2 separate regions of the Homo sapiens genome follow, and region 1 is linked to region 2. The links are contacts of gene promoters, found by promoter capture Hi-C in blood cells and fetal thymus (Javierre and others, 2016). All regions are on one chromosome and are shown on one strand. The core of a region is centred on a gene start or on the middle of the fragment in contact, and the rest is flanking DNA. Distances in the headings are between cores, read along the strand shown. Region 1 overlaps KCNA3 (potassium voltage-gated channel subfamily A member 3). Region 2 holds the start of CD53 (CD53 molecule).

Evidence for each region. Contacts are between HindIII fragments. The CHiCAGO score rates a contact against its expected background, and 5 or more counts as called.
Region 1: a fragment that was not itself captured here is called in contact with the fragment with the promoter of CD53 in region 2 in 2 of 17 cell types (total CD8 T cells and activated CD4 T cells); the score reaches 5.4 in total CD8 T cells.

What each region holds. Positions count from the first base shown.
Region 1 is chr1:110,668,107-110,673,322 of GRCh38, reverse strand. It overlaps KCNA3 (potassium voltage-gated channel subfamily A member 3), which reads left to right. Exons shown (of 1, transcript NM_002232.5): 1 at 1-858. The coding sequence ends at 241. Among named protein-coding and RNA genes, the nearest start is that of KCNA3, 4.2 kb to the left of the region's middle. The HindIII fragment of the contact is 4,893 bases long and covers 1,048-5,216 here.
Region 2 is chr1:110,871,767-110,876,696 of GRCh38, reverse strand. CD53 (CD53 molecule) reads right to left here and starts at 3,549. Exons shown (of 8, transcript NM_000560.4): 1 at 3,449-3,549. It also overlaps a transcript of LRIF1 not described here. RefSeq lists enhancers at 2,027-2,076, 3,589-3,698, 4,299-4,348. The HindIII fragment of the contact is 4,495 bases long and covers 1-3,691 here.

The DNA.
Region 1 (5,216 bases), core at 2,245-4,744, 200 kb after region 2:
ATCCCAGTACATGCACGTGGGAAGTTGCCAGCACCTCTCCTCTTCAGCCGAGGAGCTCCGAAAAGCAAGGAGTAACTCGACTCTGAGTAAGTCGGAGTATATGGTGATCGAAGAGGGGGGTATGAACCATAGCGCTTTCCCCCAGACCCCTTTCAAAACGGGCAATTCCACTGCCACCTGCACCACGAACAATAATCCCAACTCTTGTGTCAACATCAAAAAGATATTCACCGATGTTTAATATGTGATACAAGTGACATGCTGTGCTCAGTATTGTGTGGAACGTGCCCCCTTGGTCTGCCTATGCCCTTGTTTTATACATTTCCAGACCATTCATCAAGGAAAGGACCTGAAGAAGTGGAAAGCACACTTCATTCTCCCTCTCCCTGCTGCTTCATACTGAAACAGGTGCCTGTTTTGCAAGTGGGCTGCATTCTCTCAGCTCTCCTTTTCCCTCTTACCCTCTCTCTCTTAACATTGTAAACAACAGACTTACGTTAAACTTCATTTCTAGTACACGCCCTATTTAAAAAAGAGCAGTACATCCTGGGAGGAAATGAAACTAAAGAACAGTTAGAGTAACTGTTTAACCTCAGAATTTTAAAGGCAGTTGTTTCTTTCCTAAGCACATCAATTCGTAGTAAATGATGCTTCGGTTTGATGGACCTTTCAACGTTATTTATTGAATATGTATTTCGGTTGCCTACCCTGTAGATATGTGGATGAAGAGTCTAACTAGAATAATGACTTGTAAACCCACCATGAGTTATTTGGTTTTTGACTTAAATTCCTATTTGAATCCCCTTTCCCGGAATTTTAAGTGTCTCTACAACTTTGAATAAAGGGAAATGCCCAAGATGTCCTGATCTGACTAATTAGTTTAATTCTTTCGGGCTTGCTAAGCATTTCTAAAGCATTAGACTAACAGATTCCTGTGAAGTTCTGTGCATATGTCCCAGCCCCAACAACTATCAAAGTCTAGAAACAGATGTTTTCAGTGTTGCTGAGAGAAACAAAAAATTTCCTAATGCATCTGAGAGATAAGCTTCGGCAGTATCACAAGAAGATTAAAGTGGCAGACACCCCTTCCAGCGGAAGTTACTAATTCGGACCTGACTGATGCAGTTTCCATAGCAACCCATGTTTCCTGGGAAACCCGAAAAAGGTTGTCATGGCATCTCTTGCTCTCTAGCCCCACCTCCCAGCCCCTGCCGTTTCCACAGTAACCTTTCCAGATGGTTCCTACTTAAATGATTTCATAAGGAAAACCACTGTTTGAATAAGCCGCACAAAAAATAAAGTTAAGTCTGAGACTCTAAGGAGGTGAAATGAATCCCAAATGCATTTTTTAACTATGAAAATCATTATGTCATTCCATAATGACTGAATCAAGGAGGAAAATATGGTGTTTGGAATGTTAGATATTAACCACAATAAGGCATGATCTGGATTAAATGCCATTTATTAGGCAATAATTTTTAAAGATGCTTCTCTACAGTTTTCTTTCTCCAAGAACTTTCAAGCCAACAAATGAAATTTAAAAGCAAATGTAAAAGTGTTCTGTACATAAGCAAATGAGAGATTCGATCAGTGTGCCTGAAACCTTACTACAAGGGACCTTCAGGCTTTCTCTTTAAAAAAAAAAATACAGATCCCACAACAGCTCTGTCATCATCACAGCACTTGACAAGCTAAATAAACTTCAAATAAATAAAGGATGCACGTTTAAAACTGAGTGAATTGCAGACAATCAATTAAAAGGAGGGACAGGAAGTAACCAGATCTTGGGAGAACACCTGCAAGTTTCAGCCATATGCCAAGGGTTGCCAGAAGACAGACAGAATCAGGTGAGCACTCTGTGATCTACTGGGAGCAGTCCCTTTTGTTATCCAGAGCCAGGGAACTGTCATTCATGTATAGACTGATGGTATTTGCCAAACCAACAGTTTTATCTTAGTTACATGCTTGGTGTCTTTTTAAAAATAATTTACACCTTTCTCATTTGATTTCCATGTTGCTAACTGTCGTTTAGTTTCCATTGTTTATTACAAAAGGATGAAAAAACAGTCATTGCTCTTCAGAATAACCTTCACTCAAGCCAAACTGAAAATTATTCCGTTCCTTTTACTAACCCACTTGGCCTCCAAGCAACCTGTTTCCCTTTAAAAAGGATAAATGGCAGAATCTACTGCTGTTAGATTATTGGTCCAATTTTAATTTACATAATTATTTAATAGTATGCAGTGGTACAGTTCTTTGAAACAAAAAAGGGTTAAAAATAAGAGTAACATTTTATTTAAACATAATCATTCTGTTTCATATACATTATATAAATTATACATTATCTACAGTTGTTTTTTGGTTTTAATAGCATATAACTATTCTATCCTTCCAGAGTAAATGAGAGTAACCCTATTTTTAAAGCCCATGAAGTATTTTCAGTTAGGAGTACATTTATAATGCATGCATTGAAGAGAGAGGAAAATAGTGATTGAGACTATAAGAGAGAGCTGAGGAAGGAAAAGACCAAACAAATAGAGGCAAGAAATCTAAATATACCTGGTCATAGATTTGTTGTTTGTTTTTTATCATATATTTGTTTTTATCTATGTATATCTAAGTAGGACTTCATTATCTAGTTTTCTTTGCTTTTTGTTTGAGTTAACCTTTGACATTGATCTACCTCTTGACCAAACGTTTGGTACCCTTAATGACCAGAAATTATTTTTATGACACATTTTGATAATATGTTAGATACATTGTAACAATTACATTAAAATAATTTTTGTATCTGTTCTTAACATAGAGATGGAGGAAGTGCAATGACAATTTTATTCACATTTATTCAGGAGATGTAGAAACCTTGATTAGTTCTATAAGTAAATTATGGTTGTGCCATAATTCTTATGGTTATTAAATGGCAGTAATTTAAAGGGGGCCTTTGTTCTTTAATCCAGAGAAATATCCTGGCTTTTGACTCATAACTTTGAGGTAATATGATTGCTTGTAGTCACCACATTGTAAGTTCCCTAAAGGATATAAGCTCTGTGTCTTGAAGGTTTTAGGTACTAGTGCCTAGCACAGAATGTGGCACCTTTTATATTTGTTGAGTGAATGGCTGTTATCTTACATAAATGTTATTTCCAGGCTTTTAATAAAGTGGTTAAAAGCATAAGCTCTGCAGTCATATTTCCAGGATTTGAGTCCTGACTCTGGTATATGATCTTGAACAAATTACTTAACCTCTCTGTGCCTCAGTTTCTTTGTTTGTAAAATGAGGGTGATAAACAGTACCTCACAGGTTTATTGTGAATAGTAAATGTTAATACAGGTAGAACACTTAGAAAAAATAATTCCATGACACGGCATCAGAGATTTTGCTAAGAGATTATATTGTGATCATCACTCACAAGCACTGTATAATTAATACAATGTTTTGTGAATATGAAATACACAAGTAATCAGTGTCTTCCTATTTCCTTTCTATTATAAGAATAATAATTACCATTTATTAAGAGTCAACCATGTCCTGGACACTTGTCAACTCCGCAAGGTAAGTGCTATTAACCTCATTTTAGGAGGGCATAAAATAGATGCTTAAAGTTAAGTGATTTCCCTAAGACTTCACAGCTAGCAGGAGACTCAGTTATGATTTAAAGCCAGGTTATTCTGGCTCTGAAACCCATGCTACTTTTATTAGGTGACTTGAAAGACAAATCTCTTATGCTTTTAGACTTGGCTTCAGCCTATGTCACTAATTAATGAGTTCATGTAGATAACATATCTCCAGAAACCTATTTCATTTCAGTATACTGAAAATTAACCTGCTTAAAATAAGCAGGTATTTTAACCAAATATAAGCATCAAATATAAGTTATTTAAATAAGATGAAGAGATTGACTTTTCTAATAACAAAAGATTATTTTCTTATAGTTGGTTTATCTAGATTTAATCTTAGAAAGTATAACCAGTCATAGTAGTGTTTAGTGATAACTGCTATGACAATGGATATTTTTCAGTTTCAAGATTTTTCTGTTTTCATGTGTTTTAATCAACAATAGATGATAGCATTATGCAAATTAGTTTTCTATCTCCTTATGCTTTGCTTCATTTACTGAAGAACCATACCAGAAAGTCATGTAAATATTTTGACTCTCCCTTATTAAGAGGGAAGAAATTATTCAGAACAGAAGTATTAAAAGCAGAATGAGATTGCCAGTTCACTGAAACTTGTGACATTATTGCCTTACCTAACCACTCCATGGATCTTTAAGGGCATCTGTGCTCTAAAGAAATTAAAATAAAATTTTTCCTACATAATAGCTGCAGACCCTTCTCTCAGTTCTTAAATCATTTATGAAATGAAAATGGATAATGATTTGGGCTTAGAGCAAAATTCTAATGAGCCTACGTTTGCACATGCCAGCTGGCTTTGCCAAACTACAACCTTCACTGTTGAGCTCAGTTGCACGTCTTATGTGTTGAAGAAATATACGGATGTCTGTGTATAGCAAGAGATTCATGTGAGGAGGTGTGACTGGATCAGTGCACACCCATCAACACCCTGGGGAAAAATGTATATGCCTTACAGCTGATGAATCCAGATAGAAACATGGAAGTTAACATTGTTATTGTTTTATTTCTTTTATGATGTTTTAAAATGACATGATACACCAACTGTGGTGACATAACCACAGACACCTACGCATAGGAGGAAGCATTATGTCAGTTATTTCTAAACTTTGAAATAAAATTTCAGTATTGAAATTTAAATGCACAGTATGAAGACATTTAAAGTTATGGTTTGTTGGCATAAAACTTGTTATTTACCTTTTTGGCGTATAATATACTCAAGTATTTGTTTTGCTATAGTATATAAAGACAATGTATATAATATATACTAGTAGTCTGTTCCTTTGAGTACCATAACTATAACTTATTGACTTCTATACATTTAAAATTTCAACATTTTCTACAGCAGTTCCAAGTCCTTCCCACCTCTCAGCTGTGAATAGAAGTGATAACCCTTCCCACTAAGAAATGCAAAGAAGCACACGTGCCCCATAATCTGAAGACTTATGGAAACACTGTGAGATAGAGGTGAGGAGCATAAGAATGTGGAAGAGGATATTTAGGGCTGCATTTTTACAGTGGGAGCTTTTTCTTTGTGTTTTGTTTTAGGCCTTTTAAACTAAGGAGGATACAATTATTGGTTT
Region 2 (4,930 bases), core at 2,300-4,799:
TACTGAGATTCTACAATAGTTATTTTAAGAAGACTAAACTATGGAATAATTCTTGAATGCCTTTATTTGCTCCTGATATAAGGTAAGCCATAAGTTCAAATTTACTTTAACAAGTAAACTTTAACAAGTTTTAAAAGATATGAGGCATTAAAATCATTTCTTACCCCTATTCCTCAATCTAGTTCTCCTGAAATAGAAAAGGCCAAACAAAAAGGTTTGGAAAATAAAATATATGTTAAGTATTTAGTTTGCTAGCATAGTAGCTTAAGATCAATTACATTTACAATTAAGTGGTATTTTTATGTTTGCTTATGTTAAAATGCACTAGGAATTTATGTAAATGAAGAATACAGTCTAATGATGCTTACTTAATAAAAAATCTCTTAGAAAAGGGACTATAGTATAATGTAGAAGAAAGAGCATGCCATAGAGAATCAGAAGACATTCTGAATAACTATTAAGTAATTTTATGATTTTTGGACAAGTCATTTTACCTGAAAAGTAAGCAGATTGGACAGTTGCGACAGCTCCTATTTATTGGCTCTCATTGTGAGTTAAGATACTTTATTTGAATCTAAATAATCTCTAACTTCGCTTGAAGTACCAATATTCTAATTCTTGGAATATAGCACTCTCATTTTAAATGATTATAAAAATGTATGCTTGTGTCATATTTTCTTTTACAATAATTCTTGGTCAGAGCTATGACATATTGATGCTATTGCTTGGGTAGAAATTCTGCTGTGTGCTTATGAAATGGATAATGAAGAGAGAGCACTCACCTCTAACTCTCAGTATAGAGATTCCTGGCCTTTACTCTGAGTGGTCATCCACTGGCTTTGCAAATGCATGTCTTTCTCTTTCCCAAAACCTACCTCCAGACAGCCTTCTCAAACTGACCACCCAACCTCCAGCTCAATCCTTCCCTCCTCTGCCCCAGCAGCCATGCTGGAGTCCTGCTCTGCATAGCTGTCTGTTTTCTCTGGGTTACTTTGCTTCAGTGCCCTGCACCTGCAGTGGCAGATGGGTCCTAGGAGCTTCCTGAGGACAGGTGCCCAGTCTCTAGGGCCCAGGGTGATCTACACACAGTGGATGCTTGCTTGGTACAAGAAGTGCCCTAGGCTGACTAATCTAGGGACGCAGAACAAACCACTATAACTGAATCAATGCAGTACTTCCTGGAACAGAAGCTAAGCTGAAAACAATGGCTGTAACCTCACAAGAAGCTCCACCCTTCCTTCTGCTCTAAGTGAAAATCTAGGTTGAGGAGGCAAAAACCTGCCTCTTCTCCCTCATTTCAAACCCACATCCCATCAATTCTGTCGTGTGAACATGGTGGGCATAGCCCCACCCAGAGCTGGACCTAGGACCTGCCTGGTGAGCGATCTTGCCCTCCACTTTCTGGTGCCAAGTAGGAGAAAGGGCTTTCCACTTCATGTGGCTCTGTAAACATGGTGTGTTACACTGCAGTCTCACTTGCTTTCTCTCATTTCTAACATGCCTGGAGGTACACACTTCTTTGAATTTGAATATACAGCACCCTTGGTCTAGAATGTCTCCATAGCAAACCCATACTTCTGTGAAAGTGAACCCACCAGTCACCTCTCTAGGCAGTTTTTGGCACACTCCTAACTCCTACAGTTTGTGCACGTTCTCCATCTATTATAGAAAAGAGCACATTGCACTGTATTTGTATATTGCTGTGACTGTCATCCATAATAAACTCTACAACTCCTTTCAGATGATAATCTTTTCTGTTATCCTGTATCTCCAGCACCAAGTGCCATATCTGGCCATGGGGTAGGAGTGGGAAAGGAGAACCAGAGTCCGAGGGCCTCTGTGCAGTCAGAGGTCAATCAGAGGGCACAAAAAACCAAGGACCAACAGACTTTGTCCTTTCCAGTTTGTGCCTCTTGTCAGTGAACAAAGGTGAGGTCACTTAGGTGGTGGTAACCATAGCTGTGAAGGCATGAACTTGGAATCATTCCTCATGAATATAAAGGTACCCAATCCTTTCATTTAAAAATTAAGTGTTCTTAACTGGCCCACACAGGAAACATCACAGGAAATAATGTTTCAGTTCAGTCTTTGCTCCCATTCAACCACAATTTCAAAATAGTACAGATTCTCCTCAAGATTGAGAAAGCAAAACCTCTTTGTTTGTCCAGCAGCTGGGAGTTTGCTTTTTCTCAGCTTTCTTCCAAAGCACACGCATAGTATGATATCTCTTATCTCCCATGGGAGTTCCTTAAGAGTAGGACTGTTTGCTAGACAAATATTCTCCTTCTACCTTTTCATCTCCCTCCCCCACAATTCCCAAAGCACAGTGCCTGGCCTCAGGAGGCACCTACCACTTGATTATTAAGTGAATTTATTTAAAAGACTGCTTTTTATTTTTTAATACAAGGCTCAATAAACTCTGAGGTGTTTTGGGAATCCAGAGCCCTCTCCCCGTCCCCACCCCTCTTGGAAATCTAGAGCCCTCTGCCCTGTTCCCAATCCTCATACTTAGATGGGTGGGTGTAATCAAAGAGAACTTTCTCCTTTCTGCTCCAGGGCATAATCAAGTGAAATTCTCACAGGTCTTGGAAGAAGAAAGCTCTTACATAGAGTTTCCGATGGTGGTCACAGAGAGTCAGGACCGAAGCTCTGCTAACACTTTGCTGAGTCCATGCAACCTCAGTCATTAGTTACAGCACATGATTGGAAATTACTGCAGTATCAAGTTTTGGGGATTGCATTTTATACGTGCATTTCATGTGACATTTATCAGTGGTCATGTTTTGTACACCAAGGATAATTTGGGGAAATGCTGAGGATCCCAATGTGCTTCCTGCTCCTTAAAAGCCAACAATCTATGCATCCTTTAGAGATGTCTAGCTTTCACCTTTTAAAATACAGTTACTGAGCACATCCTGGTGTTTTGATTTTTAGCCACCTTTCTATTTAGTGGCTTTGAAGAACCACAGTGGGAGTCACTAAATTTACTTTTGAAATTTTCTCAAATGAAAAAGAACTGTGTCTTCTAGCTGTCTTTCTAAAGACAGCTCTGGCTGTGGGTTCTTTCCTCACTTTAAAATCACAAGACCAATTTTCTGAAGACCAGAGCACATAGGAAATCTCCCCAATGTCATCTCGCATAGAAAGCTCCAGGCATCAGGAATTACTACACAGAGTAATTCAAGCTCTGAAGCAATTAAGGCATGTGAATGCCTCGACTCAGAGATTTAGATAATGGGAACCTGATTAAGTAAAAGTATTTCTGGCCTGATTGCCTTTGGGGATGTTACTAGGATCTTGCTAATCTGTTTTACTTTGTGCACTAAATATTTGTGAAAGAGAAGTTGCCGGAGATTTTATGGTTACTAGAGAGGTATATGGAGACCCCTAAGAATACGCCCTACCCCACATTAGACAGCAAGCCAAGTTAAAACGTCATCAACCTTACCTTTTCCAGGCACCGTTCCTCAGTCCTTTCGGCAGAATTTAGTGATTATCCTTGAGGTGGCCGAGACAAGGCTGGTAACACAGATATCCGGGGCTATTTGTGTAAAAGGAGAAGTGAAGGGTGAAAAAATATGATCATGCTGTGACGACAGGAAGCCCAGATGAGAAGAAGGAGGAAGTGAGGCTGAGTCCGCCCTCTTTAGTCTCAGAGATTTAGTACTTTCCCAGTGGCTTTTTAGAAGCTTCCTCTCACAGCCCACCCTAAACTAGTTTTGTGAAACAAAAGAAAACTTCAAAACCAAGTTGGTTCAGGCACAGATCTGTGAGCAGTGGTGGATTCTAGGGTAATTTGGCAATGATTTTTGCTTAGAAAAGGACAGTGCTTCTCAATCAAGGTGGCATCTCAGAATTAACTGTGTATTTGTTCAAAAAGAAGTATGCCTGGCCCCACCACCAGTTTCCCATTCAGGTAGACAGACTGGAGGGGAACACAGGAACCAATATTTCTAAACATTTTCTAGGCCCGAGACTTTGGAATGTCTTTCTGAAGATTCTCTGCCCCCTCCTCATACTCCCTCTGTCTGGCTTCAGCCAGTCTCTAGACTTGAATTGGACACCATTTGCAGACTTCTCTGTCTCGAGAGCAAGACTGTCTTAAGGTGAGTCCCCAAGGCATAATCCCAGGGGCACTGGTAGAAATGATTTGGTTAGTACAGGAAACACCACATTTGGAGCCAAAGATCTGAGTTTCAGTTCCAGCTTTATCTCTTTTAGCTGTGAGATCTTGAGCAAGTCTCAATCTGTCAGCCTCAGTTTATTAATGGTAACACCTAATAATAATCCTACTGGTTACTGTTACATCCTTATTTATATACAAGAAAACAGGCGCTCAAAGAGGTTAGAAAATTTGCCCAAGCTCATACAACTAAGACATGTCAGAGGTAGGATTAAAATTCAAGGTCACAGAGAAGGCCTTTTGAGAAACACTGTGATCAATATATTTTGAAAAATGTGTTTCTGGTTTCACTATGCTGCATCACTGGAATTTTCTTAGATTGGGTCAAAGGAGTATGTGACAACCCAAATGTATCACTAGCTAACTATGAAACTTGGAAGCAATCACTGGGCCCCAATGTTTTCATCTTATAAATGAACAGATAGATGCACTCTGCGGTGCTGACTTGCGGGCATGCCTCTGGGAAAGCTAGCTGTCTCCCGCTTCCTTCACCCTGAGACATTCAGATCCAGAGTAATCTCCAGCCAGGGCTGTCTTGTGGGGAAAACTGAATTAAATGAAGGTAAAAAGGTCTTTACTGCAGAACTTGTCAGTCCTTAATATTCTCTAAGCAGGGGAAATAATATATAGATTTCTCCAAACTTATCTGAGCATGGAACTGTGTGGTGTGTGTGTGTGTGTGTGTGTGTGTGTGTGTGTAGTTTCTCTTGGGGAACAATTTTTCAGTGTAACTACACTTTAGGGAAT